3 separate regions of the Homo sapiens genome follow, and all the other regions are linked to region 1. The links are contacts of gene promoters, found by promoter capture Hi-C in blood cells and fetal thymus (Javierre and others, 2016). All regions are on one chromosome and are shown on one strand. The core of a region is centred on a gene start or on the middle of the fragment in contact, and the rest is flanking DNA. Distances in the headings are between cores, read along the strand shown. Region 1 holds the start of RPS9 (ribosomal protein S9). Region 2 overlaps LAIR1 (leukocyte associated immunoglobulin like receptor 1). Region 3 has its middle 19 kb from the start of TTYH1.

Region 1 (3,468 bases), core at 679-3,178:
ATCAAACCCTATGAGGAAAGTCCTGTTACTTTCTCCCATTTAGCACTCTTGAAGAGGCTAATTTGCCTAAGATCAAGAGCTCGTCAGTGACTGCTGAGGTTCAAACGCAGATCTTTTTTAAGACTTGAGAACCTACAGGTTCAACCACCATTATAAAACCATCTCTGTAATCACGAGGCACCCGGAATTTGTGGAGCTTGGACTTCATCCTGAAGGGAGTGAAAACTTATGGAAGTTTTTTCCTTCCACGTTTCCCCCTTCCAGATGAATAATATACGCGTGTTCAAGATACAAAAATGCATAAAATTTGGCCAGGCATGGTGGCTTACACCTGTAATCCCAGCACTTGGGGAGGCTGAGGCGAGTGGATCACTTGAGCCCAGGAGTTCAAGACCAGCCTGGGCAATATGGCAAAACCCCGTCTCAAAACAACAAAACAAACAAACAAAAAACCCATAAAACTGAACAAGGTAGTTTGTAAGATATGGAAGTACAATGCAGATGACAATAATGACGATGGTAGCTACCACTAGGCGCTTTATTTATGCCACTCTCCTCAACACTGGATAGACTCTCACTTAATCCTCACAAGCTTATGAGGTAGGCGCTACCATCATTCGCCGTTTTACAGAGGAGGACGCTGAGGCACAGAGTGATTGAGAAACTTGTCGAAGGCACTGCAGCTGGCAAGTGGTGACGTGGCATTTGAATCCAGGCATCCGGATGGTGTGGATGCCGTGGAAGAGAAAGGGGCGGGTGGGACTGCTTCCTGAGGAGATAGTGACTGCCGAGGCAGCAGCGTAGGGAAGACAACTGAAGAACACGAGCTGTGGAGACAGACCATCGCATTCGGAGTGGAGAGATGGGTGTACAGACAGACAATAACCAGACTATATATAAAAAGAGAACTCTAGGTCAGGCGCGGTGGCTCACACCTGTAATCTTAGCACTTTGGGAGGCTGAGGCGGGTGGATCACTTGAGGTCAGGCGTTGGAGACCAGGAGTTCAAAACCCCGTCTCTACTAAAAATTTAAAAATTAGCCGGGCATGGTGGTGGGCGCCTGTAGTCCCAGCTTCTCGGGAGGCTGAGGCACGAGAATCGATTGAACCCGGGAAGCGGAGGTTGCAGTGAGCCGAGATCGCACCACTGCACTCCAGCCTGGGTGACGAGAGCGAAAAACTCCGTCTCAAAAATAAAATAAATTACTGATAATAGTACTAATACCCCTTAAGTGGCTATTGATAATAATAGTACCATGGGTGGGGGGGCAACTTCTCTGAGAGTGCTCTGTAAGTATGTATTGAAGATTGAGTAAATACATTTAAAATTCTTAGAACAGTATGTGGCACATAGCGTTCCAGAATGCCACATTATTGTTAGTGACAGAAATAATCTCGGCTGGGCGCGGTGGCTCACGCCTGTAATCCCAGCACTTTGGGGGGGCCACGGCGGGAGGCTCTCTCGAGGCCGGGAGTTCAAGACCAGCCTGGGCAACATGGCAAGACGCCGACTGTTAAAAAAAAAAAATGCTACCCGGGCGTCGTGGCGTGTGCCTGTAATCCCAGCTACTGGGGAGGAGGTGGGAGGATCGCTCGAGCCCGAGAGGTTGGTCGGGGCCTCAGTGAGCCGAAATCACGCCACTGCACTCCAGCCTGGGCGACGGAGCGAGACCCTGTCTCAGAAAGAAAAAGAAAAACCACCGTCCAGGGGCGGAGAAGGAAGGTTCTCCCTACTTCTCAGGTTTCCACTCCCTGGCCGGAAAAAACCTAGTCCTCCCAGGTTAGCACGCCGCTCTAGCCCAGCCTCACGTCTCCACTGCTTCTCAGCCAGCCAACGCCTCTTCTGATTGGCTCTGACGTGCGTGGTGCGTGAAAACGTCACGAGACGCCGGCGTTACTATAAGAGCGCAGCCGTGGCGCTTCCGCGCCTCTTTCTCAGTGACCGGGTGGTTTGCTTAGGTGAGGTGCGGTGGTGTGCTTTTTCTCTAGGGTTTGGGTTGGATGGTGGCCCGGGCCTTCCGAGTTTCCATGAGTAAGCTAAAGACGTTAGGAAACAGAGCAGGGTGGTTGAACGGGAGTGCAGCACGGTTGTGGGGGCAGATACTGACTATGAGAGCGTTGGAGGTTATTCTCGCGAGATCGGATCTGGGCTCCGCGAGGTTTTGGCGTAGTTGTGGGACTGCGCAGGCGCCGTTTGGATCCCTTACGCTCACACTTCTCTCCCGCGCAGGCGCAGACGGGGAAGCGGAGCCAACATGCCAGTGGCCCGGAGCTGGGTTTGTCGCAAAACTTATGTGACCCCGCGGAGACCCTTCGAGAAATCTCGTCTCGACCAAGAGCTGAAGCTGATCGGTGAGTGGCCAAGGCTTCCGGGAAGTGGTTCGGCTTCCGGGAGGCGGTTAGCACGTGGATGAAGGTGCCCATGTACTCTATCTAGTCCGTCCCCTAAATTTGGTACTATTCGTGGTTTAGGAAGGTTTTGTGATTCCAAAGCTGCCAGTCTAGTTGTTGTGCCAGTACGTGGGACTACACTTGTCCACCCCCTTCTCCCCACCAGGCGAGTATGGGCTCCGGAACAAACGTGAGGTCTGGAGGGTCAAATTTACCCTGGCCAAGATCCGCAAGGCCGCCCGGGAACTGCTGACGCTTGATGAGAAGGACCCACGGCGTCTGTTCGAAGGTGCGTATGGGAGTCCACAGCAGAGGGATGGGGTGCAGGGCTTGTGAGGTTCATTCTCCCTTCTGTTGCCTCTGTTCCAGTGATGAGAGTTGTGTCATTGGATAAATGGAACCAGCCTTCTAACTTTTAGTGGCACTTGTGGAGTAGGAAAAGTGTATCTGGATCAGTCTTTGCCCTGTTTCTTAGGTGTGTGGCTTTTTTGCCCAGTTATTGGACCTTCAGTTTAGTAATGACCAGAGCTAAAGATAGGCCTGGCACACCTGGGCACCCGTCTATATCTTTATATTCTGTTTATGTGGCCTGTTTGCTAGTGGATGAGAGTAGACTATGAAGTGGAATTTCTGGGCTAAGTGATGGTGATAACAGGGTTTGCACATTTGCTTGGTTTATTGTTTTTTTAATTAAGTTTTCTCGTTTTATTTAGTCTTTTGAGACGGAGTCTTGCTCTGTTGCCCAGGCTGGAGTGCCGTGGCGCCATTTCGGCTTACTGCAACCCCCGCCTCCTGGGTTCAAACAATTCTCCTATCTTAGCCTCCCAAGTAGCTGGGACTACAGACAGGCGCACGCCACCACACCTGGCTAATTTTACTTTTGAGACGGAGTCTCGCTCCATTGCCCATGCTGGAGTGTAGTTGTCGCAATCTTGGCTCACTGCAAACTCCGCCTCCAGAGTTCAAGCGATTCTCCTGTCTTAGCCTCCTAAGTAGCTGGAATCACAGGCATGGGCCACCAAGCCTGGCTAATTTTCTATTATTAGTGGAGATGGGTTTTCACCATGTTGTCCAGGC
Region 2 (3,339 bases), core at 623-3,122, 150 kb after region 1:
AACAGGTTGTCACTGCTGAAGGACCAAGCAGAACAACGGTTTCAGGAAGCTTTAGCTCTAAATCCCAGTAGATGTAGAGCAGGTGCAGAGCTCTGGGGACTCTCAAAGCACTTTTAACTCTGGTTAAGTGTCAGAATTGCATTTAGACATCAACACATTTATATTCCTTGATTCTTTCTTCTCCCTAAGCCTTAAACATATAGTCACCTTTTATCAAAAAGATATTTTATTTGTCTAAATGGAAGATATAGTTTACTTTCTTCACACAGATGCCAGAAATTTTCTATGAACGTAAAATCTTTGGTGCAATCAAGTGCATACTGCTTCCCAGATCCTACAAGAAAGGAGATTAAGGTGTAGAATTTTACACTCATCACAGAAAGTTTTCAGAGACTAACTGGCATCACCAACCAAAACACAACATGCTATCACCACAACTATTTTTAAATGTCTTAAGTAGTAGTTTCCATTGGACAGCAGGTGTGTAAGCAGGAGCCAAGAGTGAAACACGCTCTTGCTCCTCTTCCTAGCAAGAGAGCAAAGACTGTGAGGTTTGGTGTATTCATCCAGAGAGAGTGTTTTAAATGGGGCTATGACAGAGAAGGTAGACGAGGTGTTGGGCAGCCCTGGACACCCTCAGAAAATATCCCTTCTTCATGAATTTATTTTCTATGTTCAGTTTTACACTAAAAGGTAAAAAAAAGTTAAAAAAAAGAAAAAAAAAGTCCACCCTATAGTTTGTATAACAAACATTCTCACTTGTTCATGCTGTATTCAACGTCGAGCCCATTTTCTTTCCCCTACTACAAAATCCCACCGCTGGGGTCCTGGTACCTACAGTGATGGTTCTGAATAAAGCCCTCCTTACTCTGCTTTGATAAAGGTCACCGGGTAATCTTTCTCTCAACGCCTTGCCCAGCTGGCCCAGGGCTCCAAGAAAGGGAAGGCCAGACCCCTGGCCTCTGCCCTGGTTACTCACAGGGACATCTGTGAATATCTGCTGCTGCCCCATCTGGCCCCGGTGAGGCTGCTCCTCCCTTTCACGTTGGGCCCCACTGCAGCCTCCTGGTGTTCACCGCCAGGGCACACCCCAGGGGAACTGGGGTGGGATCATAAGCACAGGGTAGGCCCTCCCTCTCTGCCTGGCCACACTGCACTGCCAGGTGAATTAAACATGGCTCTTCCCCCAGGTGGTGCTTGGGGGCCCGTGCAGCAGGAGGGACATCTTCTCCGCACAGCAATGTTCCCAGATCTCACCACCCTGAGTTCTGGCCCCTGCGTTGGGCGGGTTGGCAAGTCAAGAGAAAAAACAAGCCCCTGCATCTAATTTTCTGTCTTCTCTCTGGGCCCTTCCTCTTTCCACTAATATGTCAAGAAATAACAGTGTGGTATTTTTGCTTAATTTCCCCTAAACTCTATCTGTCCTGCTTTCCACTGTGACCTCACCACCTGAACTTCCTGGACTTCCTTACACTGGAGCAGACACTGGCATCTGCTCAGCTCTCCTGTGCTCTGCAAGGGGTAGAAAAATTCACCCATCCTCTGCTATGTGCAGACTGTCCACCTTCTGCTATAGAGTTCATGTACCCACCTGTCAACCTCATAGTCAAACAAACAAGACGTTATGGGAGAAAACACCCAGCTGATGGTTGAAAAACAACCAGAGAAGAAAGACAGAGATGTAGAAAAAGAGACAAAGACGGCTGGACGCAGTGGCTCATGCCTGTAATCCCAGGACTTTGGGAGGCTGAGGTGGGCAGATCACCTGAGGTCGGGAGTTCAAGACCAGCCTGAGCAACATGGAGAGCCCCCCGTCTCTAACAAAAATACAAAAAATTAGCCGTGTGTGGTGGTGCATGCCTGTAATCCCAGCTGCTCAGGAGGCTGAGGCAGGAGAATCGCTTGAACCCGGGAGGCAGAGGTTGCAGTGAGCCAAGATTGTGCCATTGCACTCCAGCCTGGGCAACAAGAGCGAAACTCCATCTCAAAAAAAAAAAAAAAGAGAGAGAGAGACAGAGAGACACACAGTGAGAGAGAAAGACAGAAAGAGAGACAGGGACAGAGACAGACAGAGCAGGGAGAATGTGTCCCACGTGAAGAACAGGGAAAATCGGTCACAATGTTCACACAAGAAAGCAAAGATACAGAGTACAGCACTGGGAAGCAGATCCCAGGAGGAAATTAAACCTGAGCACAAATAGAAAATTAAAGCTCAGTACAAATTAAAATTGGGTAGGCCAGTCAGGTACCACCCTCTTTGAACCAGCACAGAAACCTCCCAGCAGACCGAGCTGCAGCCCATCCCGGGGTTCATAATGTGGAGTCAGGAGCCTCAGGTGGGTCTGAAGCCCCTGTCTCTGAGACTTGGCCGACCTTGGACAGGTTACTTCATGTCTCGGTCCATAGTTTCTGTTTTTATAAATGAGGAAAATAATAGAGCACGCTGTGGAGGGTTTGTAGGAGAATTTAATGTGTCCACGTTTGCCTAGAACTAAATTAGCAACTGCCCCATAGAAAGAGCTGGCTGAGTTTTTGCTGAATTCTTAAAAATCTTTCTTTTCTTTTCTTTTCTTTTTTGACGGAGTCTCGCTCTGTCGCCCAGGCTGGAGTGCAGTGGCACCACCTCGGCTCACTGCAAACTCCGCCTCCCGGGTTCACGCCATTCTCCTCCCTCAGCCTCCCGAGTAGCTGGGACTACAGGCACCCACCACCACACCCGGCTAATTTTTTTGTATTTTTAGTAGAGATGGGGTTTCACCGTGTTAGCCAGGATGGTCTCGATCTCCTGACCTCGTGATCCGCCCACCTCAGCCTCCCAAAGTGCTGGGATTACAGGCGTGAGCCTCCATGCCCGGCCTGTTTTTGTTTTTTAAAGACAAACACAGATTAACCCAAATGAGATTCTGCCGCCTCCTAGTGGTACATAGGGTAATTTTCTGTGTCAATCAGTACATCTGACCCTACAGGTAGGGTGGATACTCAGAAATGCCTCAACCAACAGCAGGCTCAGTGATTCCTTGGATTTCCTGGGGCGTGTGAGTGTATGTGCATGTCTGTGTGTGTGCGTGTGTGTATGCATGTGTGTGAGAGCATGCATTCCTGTGCATGTATGTGCAGATGTGGACCTGTAGGGTCGGCTCTCTGCCTTCACCCAGCCACACCTCCCTCATTCATTCCTGATACACGTGATTTGTCAGAAAACACTGACACCAATGTGAAGTCCTAAGATGAGCAAGTTCAGAATATCTAATGTATCGTATCTGTGGCGATGGGTGCGCTGAGGAATTGATTGTGACTGTCATTGCACAATGTACGTGTACGACAAATTATCACATTTTA
Region 3 (3,641 bases), core at 788-3,287, 200 kb after region 1:
ATCTCGGCTCACTGCAAGCTCCGTCTCCCAGGTTCAAGCGATTCTCCTGCCTCAGCCTCCCGAGCAGCTGGGATTATAGGCACCTGCCCCCACGCCCGGCTAATTTTTGTATTTTTAGTAGATGGGGTTTCACCATGTTGGTCAGGCTGGTCTCGAACTCCTGACTTTAGATGATCCACCCGCCTCGATCTCCCAAAGTGCTGGGATTATAGGCGTGAGCCACCATGCCTGGCATCATTTCTTTTTCTTTTCTTTTCTTTTCTTTTTTTTTTTTTTTTTGTTGTTGTTGTTGTTGTTGTTGAGGCAAAGTTTCACTCTTGTCGCCCAGGCTGGAGTGCAGTGGCACGATCTCAGCTCCCTGCAACTTCCGCCTCCCGGTTTCAAGTGATTTTCCTGCCTCAGCCTCCCAAGTAGCTGGGATTACAGGCGCCTGCCACCACGCCTGGTTAATTTTTGTATTTTTAGTAGAGATGGGTTTCCCCATGTTGGCCAGGCTGGTCTTGAACTCCTGACCCTGTGATCTGTGGGCCTTGGCCTCCCAAAGTGCTGGGATTACAGATGTGAGCCACCGTGACTGGCTAATTTTTGTGTTTTTAGTAGAGATGGGGTTTCGCCATGTTGGCTAGGCTGGTCTCGAACTCCTGACCTTGTGATCCGCCCGCTTCGGCCTCCCAAAGTGCTGGGATTACAGGCATGAGCCACTAGAGTCTCTTTGTGAAAAGGAATGGAAGGATGTGGTGTGATGCAGCACGCATCACCAGGTCCCTGTCATAAATTTGCTTTTGTGGCCGGGCGCGGTGGCTCACGCCTGTAATCCCAGCACTTTGGGAGGCTGAGGCAGGCGGATCCCCTGAGGTCAGGAGATCGAGACCAGCCTAGCCAACATGGCGAAACCCCATCTCTACTAAAAATACAAAAAATTAGCCGGGCGTGGTGGCAGGCACCTGTAGTCCCAGCCACTCGGGAGGCTGAGGCAGGAGAATAGTTTGAACCCGGGAGGCGGAACTTGCAGTGAGCCGAGATTGCTGCACTCCAGCCTGAGCGACAGAGCGAGACTCTGTCTCAAAACAAAACAAAAAAAGCTTACCCTCCATGATGCAGCAATCCCACTACTGGGTATATGCTCAAAGAAACTGAAACCAGTGTGTGGAAGAGATGTCTGCACCCCTATGTGTATTGCAGAGTTATTCACAATAGCCAACATATGGAATCACCTAAGTCTCCATCAGTGGACAATGGGTAAAGGAAATGTATATATACACAGTGGAAATACTATCCAGCCTTAGAAAGGAAGGAAACCCTGTCATTTACAGTATGGATGTAATTGTCAACCTTCAGGACATCATGCCACATGAAATAAGCCAGATACAGAAAGACAAATATCGCACAACCTCACTTATACATGGAATATTAAAAAGTTGAACTCAGGCCTTCGAGACTAGCCATGGCCAACATGGCAAAACCTACTCGGGAGGCTGGGCACGGTGGCTCACGCCTGTCAGCACTTTGGGAGACCAAGGCGGGCAGATCACCTGAGGTTGGGAGTTCGAGACCAGCCTGACCAATATGGAGAAACCCCGTCTCTACTAAAAATTCAAAATTAGCCAGGCGTGGTGGTGCATGCCTGTAATCCCAGCTACTCGGGAGGCTGAGGCAGGAGAATGGCTTGAACCTGGGAGGCGGAGGTTGCAGTGAGCCGAGATTGCGCCACTGCACTCCAGCCTGGGCGACAGAGTGAGACTCTGTCTCAAAAAAAAAAAAAAAAAAAAAGTTGAACTCACAGAAGCAGAGAGCGGAATGGTGGTGACCAGGGGCTTGGGAAGGGGAGTAGGGATTGGGAAGATCGTGGTCAGAGGGTACACAATTTTAGATAGAAAAAAATAAATTCAAGAGATCTGTTGTGCAACATGGTGACAAATTAGTGAAAATGTATTATGTACTTAAACATTGTTAGCAGAATAGATCGTAAGGGCTCTCGCCACACACGCAAAAATGACAACTATGTGGCCACGAACGGTGGCTCACACCTATAATCCAAGCACTTTGGGAGGCTGAGGCAAGTGGATCACTTGAGGTCAGCAGTTTGAGACCAGCCTGGGCAACATGGCCAAACCCCATCTCTACAAAAAATACAAAAATTAGCCAGACGTGGTGGCACACACCTGTAATCCCAGCTACTCGGGAGGCTGAGGCACAAGAATCACTTGACGTGGGAGGTGGAGTTTGCCGTGAGCTGAGATCGCACCACTGCACTCTAGGCTGAGTGACAGAATGAGACTCTGTCTCAGAAAAAAAAGTGAGGTGATGGATATGTTAAACATCTTGATTATGGTAATTATTTCACAATGTGTACATATGTCAAAACATCATGTTGTACACCTTAAATATATACACTTCTCTTTTTGAGACGGAGTCTCGCTCTGTCGCCCAGGCTGGAGTGCAGTGGCGCAATCTCGGCTCACTGCAATCTCCGCCTCCCGGCTTCACACCATTCTCCTGCCTCAGCCTCCCGAGTAGCTGGGACTACAGGCGCCCGGCTAATTTTTGTATTTTTTTTTTTAGTAGAGACGGGGTTTCACCGTGTTAGCCAGGATGGTCTCGATCTCCTGACCTTGTGATCCACCCGCCTCGGCCTCCCAAAATGCTGGGATTACAGGCATGAGCCACCGCGCCTGACCAAATATATACGCTTTTATTTGTCAATCATATCTCAATTAAGCCAGGAAAAAATTGGTAAGGCTACTTTTGGAAACACTTTGACACTATTTCAAAAAATTGAAACTAACAATCCCTATAGCGCAATCATTCCATTCTTATATGTATACTCTTTAAAAATTCTTGCACATATGCACCAAGAAACATGTAAAAAATGTCTGTTACGTAATAGGGAAAGTAAAATAAATAGAAATAGAAAAGTAACTAAAATAAAAGAAGCCCATGTGTTCATCAACAGGTACAAAAATACAAAAACTGTGATATAGACCTATATTGGAAAGCTTCAAACTATGGCATTGAAAATGATTTCACGAATCATTTCAAAAAAAAATTCATGGTTTCTGTTGTCATTTTTACCAAGTTCATTCCAATATGTGGTTTAGAGACACTATTTTAAACAAATAAGGGGCCAGGTGCAGTGGCTCACGCCTATAATCCCAGCACTTTGGGAGGCTGAGGCGGGCAGATCACCTGAGGTCAGGAGTTTGAGACCAGCCTGGACAACATGGTGAAACCCCGTCTCTACTGAAAATACAAGAATTAGCCAGGCATGGTGGTGCGCGCCTGTAATCCCAGCTCTTCGGGAGGCTGAGGCAGGAGAATTACTTGAACCTGGGAGGCAGAGTTTGCAGTGAGCCGAGATCATTCCACCGCACTCCAGCCTGGGCAACAGTGTGAGACTCTGTCTCAGAACTTAAAGTAGAATAAAATAAAATAATAAAATAAAACAAATAAGGGAACGACAAGCACAGTTACTTCTGCAGAGGAGGAAAGTGGAGGATGAGAATGGAAGGAGATTCCAGGTAGATGAGGTGGTCGGGATGAGATTGTAGCTCTTAATTGGATGGTGGGCTAAGTGAGGCCGTTTCGTTAATGTTTCATGATTCAAGCTGTTTTATAAATTCTCTTTTATTTATGAAAAATAC

The links. Contacts are between HindIII fragments. The CHiCAGO score rates a contact against its expected background, and 5 or more counts as called.
Region 2: a fragment that was not itself captured here is called in contact with the fragment with the promoter of RPS9 in region 1 in 1 of 17 cell types (monocytes); the score reaches 5.1 in monocytes.
Region 3: a fragment that was not itself captured here is called in contact with the fragment with the promoter of RPS9 in region 1 in 4 of 17 cell types (total B cells, naive B cells, fetal thymus and 1 more); the score reaches 6.2 in total B cells.

The regions. Positions count from the first base shown.
Region 1 is chr19:54,198,930-54,202,397 of GRCh38, forward strand. RPS9 (ribosomal protein S9) reads left to right here and starts at 1,929. Exons shown (of 5, transcript NM_001013.4): 1 at 1,929-1,959; 2 at 2,231-2,352; 3 at 2,558-2,680. The coding sequence starts at 2,256. RefSeq lists an enhancer at 1,317-1,986 and a silencer at 1,749-2,242. The HindIII fragment of the contact is 3,345 bases long and covers 591-3,468 here.
Region 2 is chr19:54,351,176-54,354,514 of GRCh38, forward strand. It overlaps LAIR1 (leukocyte associated immunoglobulin like receptor 1), which reads right to left. Exons shown (of 10, transcript NM_002287.6): 10 at 209-3,339. Among named protein-coding and RNA genes, the nearest start is that of LAIR1, 12 kb to the right of the region's middle. The HindIII fragment of the contact is 3,651 bases long and covers 48-3,339 here.
Region 3 is chr19:54,394,775-54,398,415 of GRCh38, forward strand. No RefSeq gene overlaps it. Among named protein-coding and RNA genes, the nearest start is that of TTYH1, 19 kb to the right of the region's middle. The HindIII fragment of the contact is 1,914 bases long and covers 1,081-2,994 here.